Regions from separate parts of the Homo sapiens genome. Here region 1 is linked to region 2. Evidence: promoter capture Hi-C in 16 types of primary human blood cells and fetal thymus (Javierre and others, 2016). All regions are on one chromosome and are shown on one strand. The core of a region is centred on a gene start or on the middle of the fragment in contact, and the rest is flanking DNA. Distances in the headings are between cores, read along the strand shown.

Region 1 (5,655 bases), core at 622-3,121, 340 kb before region 2:
AGTGATGGGGGCTGTTTTGCATATTCTCTGCCTTCTTTTCTCTTCTCTGAAAAGTAAGGAGAAATTGCACTTACAAATGCATGTTAACCATTTAATGTTAAGCTTTCCCATTTTTATTTCAATTTGGTGGCATGGTTTTCCTTTCAACACACCTTTACTGAGTGCCTGTGGTTTGACAGGCATTATGGTAGGTTCTGGGAATACAAACATTACATAGGAGTGGTTCAGTTTTTCAAGAGTGCAGTGTTTTGTAAGGGAGGAAGGCATGTAAGCACTTACTGGCAATATGTTGTTGTAAAGGCAGGAATAGAGAAATGTGCTGGATATAGCAGTAGCACAGAGGCAAAGCCTGAAGTTATTTGTTCTATGTGGACTATTAAGGGAGGCTTCAAAGAGGAAGAGATTATTGAGCTAGGTCTTAATGACTAAATAGGAGTTTGGCCAAGTCATTATCAGAATAGCAGAATGGGCTAGTTTAGGCAGAAGGAAAAGTATATACAAAGGCAGGAAACATTAGACAAGCGTTATGCTTAGTGAATTGCAAGTTTTTTATTTTTTTTTTTATTTTTTTTTGAGATGGAGTTTCGCTCTGTCACCCAGGCTGGAGTACAATGGCACTATCTCGGCTCACTGCAACCTCCACCTCCCAGGTTTAAGCTATTCTCCTGCCTCAGCCTCCTGAGTAGCTGGAATTACAGGTGCCCACCACCATTCCTGGCTAATTTTTGTATTTTTAGTAGAGATGGGTTTTACCATGTTAGTTAGGCTGGTCTCGAACTCCTGACCTCAGGTGATCTGCCTGCCTCGGCCTCCCAAAGTGCTGGGATTACAGGCGTGAGCCACTGTGCCTGGCCCAAATTGCACGTCTTTCTATTTGGCTATAAGATTAACTGTACTCTTAGGGACTGATTGCCACCTTTGTAAATCAGTTTAAATCAGAAATAACATATGAATTATGACAACTTTTATTGTAATCCTGTCTTTTCTGTGGCTGGCCTTAAGGTTCTAAGTAACAGCTCTCTGTGTTCCTTCATAAATATGGCATTTACCTGGCCAACCTACCAGGTGTTTACACTTGTGTCTTTTCATTGTTATGTTGTTACAATCTGAACTTATTTACTCTTTAGTTTCACTGCCAGGTTTGAATTTCAGCCTCAAGTGTTTAGACAACATTATGTAATGAATATTATGCTTTTATGACATTTGCTTTAGTACTGTAAGAGCTTTCCATGAAAGCTAATGGTTGAAAAAAAAAAAAGAAGCCTGAATGTCACCAAGTGGCCTCCAGATGTGTTTTATTGTGTTGGTATCTCTGTTTTGTTTTCATAAAACTTTTTTTTAATCTTAAAAAAAAAAAAAAGCTTTACCAAGCAGAAATAGCAGACAATAGTCTCATAGGAGATGAACTATTTTCTTCATTTCCTGATTGTTATGTTTTGAACTCCTGCTTAAAAAAAACAGCAACAACAAAACTTATGATTCAGTTGAAGAAAACCTCCACAACGGTATAAATACTGTACTTTTAAAAGCAAATCATGTTTATTCGTTTGTTTTTTGAAGGTAAACTCACTTCTTAGGTTGAAATGTTCTGCCTTCTTAGGTTGGAAGGGTCTGTTTTAATATGTGATTTTTCAATATGGTGATATTAAAATTGTGATTTAACATCTTTGAGAATTTCTGCCATCTAGTTGTTCACTGAGCAATCAGAATGTTTTCAGGCAGTCTGGTGTGTGATAAATATTTTGTAGCATATGTGGCTGAACATGCCAATTTCAAAGCGCTTTACAAGCTTTAATTAATTTTCACAATAACCAGACACAATTTGCTTTGTTGATGGAAAGTCCACAGACAGTGGGGTTCAGAGTGTTGCCCATATTTGTATAGCAAAGTGGTTTTCAAACTTTTTTTTGTTGCTGAATGCTTTTCTCAAACACAAGATTATCTGGAAGCTTAGCATGGAAAGTAGGATTGCTTTTGTTGGGAGGTGGAAAGGAGTTTGTCATAAGGCAGCTATATTTATAAACACACACAAGATACCTAGTTAAATTTGAATTTCAGGTAAATAATGAATAAGCTTTTAGTATATGTGTGTCTGAAATATTGCACGTCCCCAAGAAATTATTGGTTGTCTATCTGAAATTTAGGTTTTACTGGGCATCCTGTATTTAACCTGACAACCCTAAGCCAGTGACCATAACCCCATCCCTCAGCTCCCTTTTCTCCTTCCAGCCAGGTGGGGTTCCTGGTTCCTTGAACACAGCTTGAAAACCACAGACAGGAGAAGTCTACACAAATGCTGAGAAAGAAATAATAGTACATTTTTCTTCTCAGTCCTAAATTTAGACAATATTACCACTTCCTTGGCTATGTTAGAGAACTTCATGATGATGCATACACTGCCACACATAATAATTTTAAAGAATTATTGCTCAGCCTGGTGCGGTGGCTCATGCCTTTTAATCCTACCATTTTGGGAGGCCAAGGCGGGTGGATCACTTGAGCCCAGGAGTTTGAGACCAGCCTGGGCAAGATGGCAAAATCCCACCTCTGCAAAAAATACAAAAACTAGCTGAGTGTGGCAGCATTGGAGGATTGATTGAGCCTGGGAGATGGAGGCCGTAGTGAAGTGAAATCTTGCCACTGCACTCCAGCCTGGGCAACAGAGTGAGACCCTGTCCCAAAATAATAATAATAATAATAATACAAAAAGAATCATACTTTCCTTTTCCTTTCTTTTATCTTAGAATAAAATACTTTCTCTGCCAATCTTTGGGAATAATGTTTAAGTCGCCTCTTTGTAGAAGCTAAAACCTTAACTCCTGTGAGTTAAAGAGAACTGATGGTATAATCCGAATTGCAGTTGGCCACATAGAGTCAATAAAGAGAAGAATAAATAGGAGTTTGTGAGTATGCCTCTAAAGCAGCCCAGCGCAGAATTGTCTCATGTGGACTTCTCCTTGTCTGTTGGTCTATTTGGCAAGCACATCTTGTAGTGGTCCTGGCTTGATGGCAATGCCCATTGAAGTAATTCTGTTATTTTGCTCTAATATTTTAAAGCAGCCCTCAGATATTGCTCTCGTTTCTCAAGTCAACTACTCCACAGAGCATTTTATTTATTTAGCCGTTAAATGTTTTAGTGTAAGTGAGTACAGTCTGATTAGCGATCAGAAACCGCTAAGTTTGTTTAGGCTGAAACACTCCTCCAGTGCCCAAGGAACTCACTGGATTAACTGATTTAAAAAAAAATTTTTTAAACATACAAGAAACTGAGGACCGTAGCCTGGATCTAAGGAAATCTATGTGCTTTGGGTTCGATGCTCTGCATGGGTGACCTACTAACTCTATGTAAGATTTTGTATTTGCAAAATGTTAGTAGTGATTTACTTCCTGGTGGTTAGAATAGGAATGGGTATGATTTTATTAAAATTTTTTTTCCTTTGAGACAGAGTCTTGCTCTGTTGCCCAGACTGGAATGCAGTGGTGCTGTCATGGCTCACTTGCGGCCTCGACTTCCTGGGCTCAAGTAGGCCTCCTACCTCAGCCTACCAAGTAGCTGGGACTACAGGGGCATGCCACCATGCCTTGCTGATTTTATATATATATATTTGTAGAGATGAGGTCTCACTTTATTGCCCAGGCTGGTCACAAACTCCTAGACTCAAATGACCCTTCTACCCCAGCCTTCCAAAGAGCTAGAATTACAAGCTTGAGCCTTGATTTTATTTTTTTATGCCATTCTCAGGTTTTTCAAAATGTGGGCTATAAGCACGTTATTTTAAAAACAAGTATTTTTAATTTATTTATTTATTTATTTATTTATTTATTTATTTAAGACAGAGTTTTGCTCTTGTCACCCAGGCTGGAGTGCAATGGCACAATCTCGGCTCACTGCAACCTCCAACTCCTGGGTTCAAGTGATTCTCCTGCCTCAGCCTCCCAAGTAGCTGGGATTACAGGTGCCCGCCCCCATGCCCAGCTAATTTTTTGTATTTTTCAGTAGAGATGGGGTTTCACCATGTTGGCCAGGCTGGTCTCGAACTCCTGGCCTCAAGTAATCCGCCCGCCTCGGCCTCCCAAAGTGCTGGGATTACAAGCATAAGCCACCGCGCCCGGCCTAGAGATATATTTTAAACAATGTTCCTGTGCTTAAATGTTCCAAAGTAGAGATGAAGATCATCTGGGATATTAATAATTTTTTTAAATCTGCAAATGTTTATATATCTTTCAAGGTTAATTGTATTGTGAAATCTGCCCAAATTGTTTACACTTAAAATTTCTCTCTCATTCATTCATTTGTTCATTCAACAAATACTTACTGAAGAAATATAATATAGACATAGTCCTTTATATCACAAGAAAGGGGCTGATGGGTAAAAGGAAAAGAAAAGGAAAGTGAAAGATGTAACCCACAGTCTTTGTCCTTCAAGACTTCACTATGTAGTGGGGCAGGACTGGGGCATGTACTCATACAGGTACCTCTGAAATGGGGAGAAAAGATGATTGGCCTCTATAGCAAATGAGCTCTTTGATGCACAGTGATAGTAAATGACTTTCATGAGGCTGTATGTTAATATCAGTACCAAAACACCCAGGACACCTGAATTCCTCTTAGGGGTTCATACTCCTGCATCATAAAAACAAGCGTAAGCTCCCGTCCATCAGGTGGGTCTGAAAAGTCATCACAATCCCTGCTGCTTTCCAAGCCCAAGGCCTGGGACCAGGGAGTTCATCTGCTTCCTCAGACAAGACCAACCCCAAAACTGCCTGCAGACTGAGGCTAGGATCCACCCCTCACCAGCTTTAAACACAGCCTGGGTTTGTGCTGGATGGTGTCACCCTTCTGTAGGCTGGTTTCAATTATTTTGGTTTTTAGCTTCTTTTTGTATTCTCTTGGAGGAGACAAAGCCTGTAATTTTATTCCTGTAATACCTCTTCATAAAACCAGTTTACTGATCTTTTTTTTTACTCTGAAACTCATACCAAATCTATGATATACAGCAGTCCAAAATATTTGCGTTTTTTTCTTTTATAATATTAACACATGAAAAAAGTTACCATTCATTATGTTTACCTCCTTTCACAGTTCAAATAGGGTAAATTTTAGTCTCTGTTTCTCAGTGGCTGGATAAAGGCAGAATTTGACAGGCAATTTGAGGGGATTTGTGTAATAAAGCCTAGAAAACTAAACGTTTTGTATGTGTTAAGACAACCTTTGGGTCAAAGTTAAATTCACACAAACTATTGCATAGTAAATTAAACTGAGTTATTGTTGACATTAATATGTAAATGCTTGTAAAAATAATCTAGCAGATATACAATATAGTTACTTTAAAATAAGGCTAAATATTCTATTCTTTATTTTGATTGGATATTTTAAAGGTTATATAATAATTTAATAATTTTCAAGAACTTACTGAATACAGAATTTTTATGTATTTATTTATTTAGAGACAGAGTTTTGCTCTGCTGCCCAGGCTGGAGTGCAGTGGTACAATCTCGGCTCACTGCAACCTCCGCCTCCCGGGTTCAAGTGATTCTCCTGCCTCAGCCTCCCAAGTAGCTGGGATTACAGGCACCCACTACCATGCCTGGCTAATTTTTGTATTTTTAGTAGAGACAGGATTTCATCATGTTGGCCAGGCTGGTCTCGAACTC
Region 2 (5,122 bases), core at 1,517-4,016:
ATACAGGCGCGCGCTAACCTGACTATAAGTGGATGTATTTATTCTCAGAATATTTATTGAGTGCCCACTATGTGTCACACTGTTCTAGGGGCTGGAGATGCAGCAATAAAGGCAACAAAAGTTATTGTGCTTTTTGTTCATGATTCAGAGGTGCGGCTTACTTTTTAGTGAGGGAGGTTACAATCTAGTGAAATGGTGATTTGCAGCATGGGGGATTTTTAGAGTGCTTGATTTAGTTTCCTTTTTATTTAAAAATACATTGTTGCCATCACTTTTGCAAGTAGAGCAGTTCTTGTCAGTCTATTTGAGGATCCATCCAGTTGAGGCATTTAAAAACATCACAATGCCTTAGACTTGCAAGGGACCTTAGTTGTGATAATAGTTTTAACTCCTTTATTTTACATATGAAAAAAACTTAGCTGAGTTTACCCACTGCATTACTGAGAGGTTAAAGACTAGGCCTTAAATCTGGTTCTCTTGTATACGTGCCTCAATCATACTCCTCATGGTTCCTGGTTTCCGAATTTGGGTCTGAATCATGAGAAGCTACATTTGCAAAAAGTACAGATGGTACAACGAGTTTAGAGACTGCTATGTAAATGGAGTGATTTGGTTAATCAGAAAGAAGATGCGGTGAAAGACCAATAGGATACCTGAGCTCTAACCCTGGCCTGCTCATCAAAGAAAAACCATTTAACCTGGGCCCTAATTGCCTTGTCTTTAAAAAGAAGGGCTAGACTACGGATTTACAATGGCTCGACTTACGATTTTTCTACTTTACGATGGATTTATCGGTGTACCAAATGCATTTTCAATTTACAATATTTTCTATTTAAGGTGGATTTATCGGGAAGTATCCCCTTTCTAAATCGAAGAGCATCTGCAGTCGATGAGGCCATGTGCATAGTACTTTGAGTCCTTTAAAATATGCATCTATGCGCAGGGATTTACAAAGTGCCTGGCACATAGTGCTCAAAAAAATGTTATTTATTTATTTACTTAGAGGCGGAGTCTCGCTCTGTCGCCCAAGCTCGAGTGCAGTGGCACGATCTCGGCTCACAGCAACCTCTCACTCTCGGATTCCAGCGATTCTCCTACCTCAGCCTCCCGAGTAGCTGAGATTACAGGCGCCCGCCACCACAGCTGGCTAATTTTTGTATTTTTTAATAGAGATGGGGTTTCGCCACGTTGGCCAGGCTGGTCTTGTGAACTCCTGACCTCAGGTGATCCGCCCGCCTCGGCCTCCCAAAGTGCTGGGATTACATGCGTGAGCGACCGCAACCGGCCAAAAAATGTTATTATTAATCGCACAACAATCTCATATAGATGCAATTCAGAATATGAAAACGTTGAGAATTACAGAAATTAAGCAATACTTCCAAGGTCTATCAGCTAAGAAACAGGAGAAGCAGGCTGAGAATCCTGGGCTTCTGACTGTATTATTTCCTATGTAGTTTAGCTATAAAATTATTTTACATGAATTCGGACTTGATGTAAACCTAGAAAGATGGACAGAAACAGCACAGTTAAAGAGGGATATACTTTATGCAGAAGTAACCCATGTGCATGAAGGAAGGGTTCTGGTAAGGGAATGAATTTCATCTGCACTCTTTGTCAGGAGGCAGCTTTCCTTATGGGAGAGGGAGGCAGAGGTAGGGAAAATGTGTGAAGCCTTTGAATGCCAGGCTAAGGAGTGTGGGCAAGTCGTTAGTGGTTCTTTATCAGAGTGGTGGCATAGTATTAACAGCATTTTATTATTAATCTGGTTGTGGATTACTGAATACATTGGGGAGGTAGAAGTGGAGCTTCGGAGACCAGTTAGATGGCTGTTGCTGGAGTCTGGAGTATGAGGACCTTTAGTATGTTGACGTAGAGACCTGGGAAGGTGTTCTTTTGTTAGCAGACAGCGTTGAGGGGACATGCAAACTCCTTATATTTAAAAAGGACTTATGAGTATATAGGGGTTTCTTTCAAAAGCAGCTACTGCAGAGGCCTGAGAGGCCAAAAGGGCGCGTTTGGAATTAAAACAGAGTTAGACTCTTGGCTTTGTCATTTTCTAATTATATAGCCTAGAGGAAGTCACCTAATCTCTCTTGAGTCTTGATTTCAATTCCTCTAAGTTAGGGTTGACAATCCCTACTTGTTAGAGCATCTGTGTGCATAAACCAGACAGTGCTTTAAGGCATGTAGCAATGGCGCTGCGTGTTGGTTCCCGCCTTCCCCCCGGTATACTGCAGGCGGGGGCTGGGTAGCTAAGGACAGCGGAGGCCAGGAAAGTCGTTCTACCTGGAGATCCCGGGCTGGCACTTCTGTCCAGACCTGGACAGGCCTCCGAACGCCGGCCGGCCCTACCTTGGACCAGGCTTCGCACGGGATGACGGAGCATCCCCTGCCAGTCGGTGGGACAGACGTTTTCCTCCTCAGAGGGGCTCTGGAGCGCGAGGCAGTCCCCGGCAGCCGGGGGTACCAAGGGGGCAACGGGGGAACAGCGCGGAGAGGCGGCGCCGGCGCCCGAGGCAGCCGCGGCCACCGCGGCCACCCCCGCACCGCCCGCCGGCTAACTCGCCGCGGGTGCTGGGCCGCGCTGGCCGCGTTTGAAGTCTCCGGCGCGGCTGCTGGTTGGCCGGCGAGGGTCACGTGCGCCCAGGCAGGAGTTTCCCCGACAGCTGGAGGCTGCGTGGGATCCGGCGGCGGCTCCCGAGCGCGGCGGTGCGGCCTTCCCCGCCCCCTCCCTCCCTCCTCCCCCGCCCGCTTCCGCCCGGCTTATTATCCTCCTTATTGACAAACAGAGCGGTCGCGGCGGCGACTCTCGGCGTGCGGTGATAGCCAAGCCATGGGAGACAAGAAGAGCCCCACCAGGTAACAGCGCCCGGGCCCCGGGGCCCGGACTGTGCGGGCGGCAGGGCCCTCGTGCAGGGCTTCGGGTGGCCGCCTCGCTAGCCGCCCGGGCACCGGGGCGAGCACGGGGGCAGCGCCGCTGGTGTGCGAGTGCTGCCGCTTGAGGGGGCCGGCGCCGGCCGCCCCACAATGGAGCCGCGATGGCGGCGGCGACCGGAGCGGCCGCCCGGGTGTCAGAGCGGCTGTGGCGGCGGCGACTGCGGCCGCGCTCGCGCCCTGCCTCTTCCTGACTCCCTTCCCCCTCAGCCGGAGCGCGGCGCGCCGAGGGCCCGCGGGGCGGGGGTCGCAGAATTGGGGCGGGGGGCGGGGCGGGGGCGGCCGCGGGGCCCGGGCACCGGGCGCGGCCTGCTGGTGACCCCGCGCCGCGTCGTGTCCGGGTTGTGTCCTGCAGGCCGAAGCGGCAGCCGAAGCCGTCCTCGGATGAGGGTTACTGGGACTGTAGCGTCTGCACCTTCCGGAACAGCGCCGAGGCCTTCAAGTGCATGATGTGCGATGTGCGGAAGGGCACCTCCACCCGGTGAGTCCCGGGCCTGCCCCTCGCGCCGCCGGCCGGCGGGGTGGCGACCAGAGGACGCCCTTGCGGCTGCCGCCCCCTCCCATGACACTGGCGGACCCGGCGGGAGGAGGCAGACGGAGGTGGCTGTGGCGATAGGAACTGGGTCACATTGATCGCAACCCAGGCGATGGTTTGCGGTGAGGGGTAATTGAAGAGGCTGTAACGTTTTTTGCTGCCAAGAGAGAATAAATTATTTAAGGGAGGCATTAGCTACTGCGATTTAATTCGTATCGCTGGGTGTAATGCCCCTCTCCCCATTCTGGGTATAAAAATGTTGGCTGCATTGTTGTGTTAGTGTGTGGGGATCAAGGAAAACCCATAAAATCTCTTTAGGAGCAAAGGATGTAATTTAATTTCGTTCCTAAAGAAAGAAAAGTATCTGATTGCAGAATACACAATATATTAAAACTTATTTTTCTACATGTACTTCTGGAAGGGTCAGATCAAGGTTTTATTTAGTGTTTTTATTCCAGTACTCTAATATTTTATAAATAAGTAGTTGGAGATGAGCCCAGTCACAGGAACAGATTTTTACTGAAAGTACCTTTATATCTTTAGTTTGATTAAATGGCAGTCTCTTAGACAAATGAGATGAAAAGATCTCTGCCTATTTTCAGACTTTATTTATTGTAAGCTTGCAGTATAATAACTCTGTCTTTTAAAAAATGACTTTGAATTAAGTGAATAAAGAAAATCATCCAGGAAATTCAGTCAGTGGCATTCTTAATCTGTCAGCACTTAGTTATCGAGCTCCTTGATTCTTATACGAAGGTACCCTTTGAATTAAATATAATCCTGTGATTTATTACTTAATATTTAGAGAAGATATGTATTTTGATATTACAAAGTCCATTAGAAACTAAACTATAACAATAAGCATACTAATCTTACTGTTGCTTTAAAAAAGAAGGCACATGTAATATTGACATATACAAATATTCAGTAGACGTTAGATTTCTAAAAAATGAGATCTTGATTTTTTAAAAAACACTTTACAGAATTTTATTAAGTTTAAAATTTAGAGACAGGAATGGTTGACAGTAACTTATCTGAAAAATTTCTCAGTGAAGCTCGCTGGTTTTGACATGCTTGTTTTTTGTAAATCATCATATGCTTTTTGTATATTCCCACAATTGATAAAATATTTCGTACATTTTTCATATTCAAAAAGCAAACTTTCAAACGTATGCTAAATTTAAGGGATTACAACAGAACATTCCAAAAAGAAAAAAAGTATTTGCTAAAATGATTGTGGTTACTATTTTTGGACCCGTGATTTGTGATTTAAGTATTTTGAAAAGCAGAGTATCTTCTTGGCTGTGTAAGGTTGGAGTTGGTTTAGAGTATATTTGTGTATCTGTGTTAGTACTTTGTGCTTTTTAAAATGCTCAATAAGCAATTTTTAGAAAATTCGTTTTTTGGAGGCAGGAACATTAAAGTGGAAACAATTATAATCTTGATCTCTGGTACTATATATTATTGCTTTTTGTTGTTCCCTCTCTATTTTCTTGTAGCCATTAGAAAAATACTGAAACTAGAAGAGCCTATATGTTTATTTGCAGGGACAGCAAGGAAGGGGGGAAGCTGGTGTCCTACTCCACAGCCAGTCTTGGGGTTAGAGGAACCCTGAGAAATAGAGTAGGTGGTGGCAGCTCAGAAGAGAAGAAA

The links. Contacts are between HindIII fragments. The CHiCAGO score rates a contact against its expected background, and 5 or more counts as called.
Region 1: a fragment that was not itself captured here is called in contact with the fragment with the promoter of YAF2 in region 2 in 1 of 17 cell types (total B cells); the score reaches 5.8 in total B cells.

What each region holds. Positions count from the first base shown.
Region 1 is chr12:42,570,612-42,576,266 of GRCh38, reverse strand. The region is part of intron 1 of PRICKLE1 (prickle planar cell polarity protein 1); the gene reads left to right. Among named protein-coding and RNA genes, the nearest start is that of PRICKLE1, 16 kb to the left of the region's middle. The HindIII fragment of the contact is 160 bases long and covers 1,792-1,951 here.
Region 2 is chr12:42,235,892-42,241,013 of GRCh38, reverse strand. It overlaps YAF2 (YY1 associated factor 2), which reads left to right and starts at 2,766. Exons shown (of 4, transcript NM_005748.6): 1 at 2,766-2,859; 2 at 3,290-3,415. The coding sequence starts at 2,834. It overlaps LOC124902920 (a long non-coding RNA gene), which reads right to left and starts at 2,569. Exons shown (of 2, transcript XR_007063279.1): 1 at 2,287-2,569; 2 at 1,736-1,877. RefSeq lists silencers at 2,021-2,160, 2,351-2,590, 2,641-3,020, 3,121-3,190, 3,311-3,640 and an enhancer at 2,974-3,475. The HindIII fragment of the contact is 7,822 bases long and covers 1-4,090 here.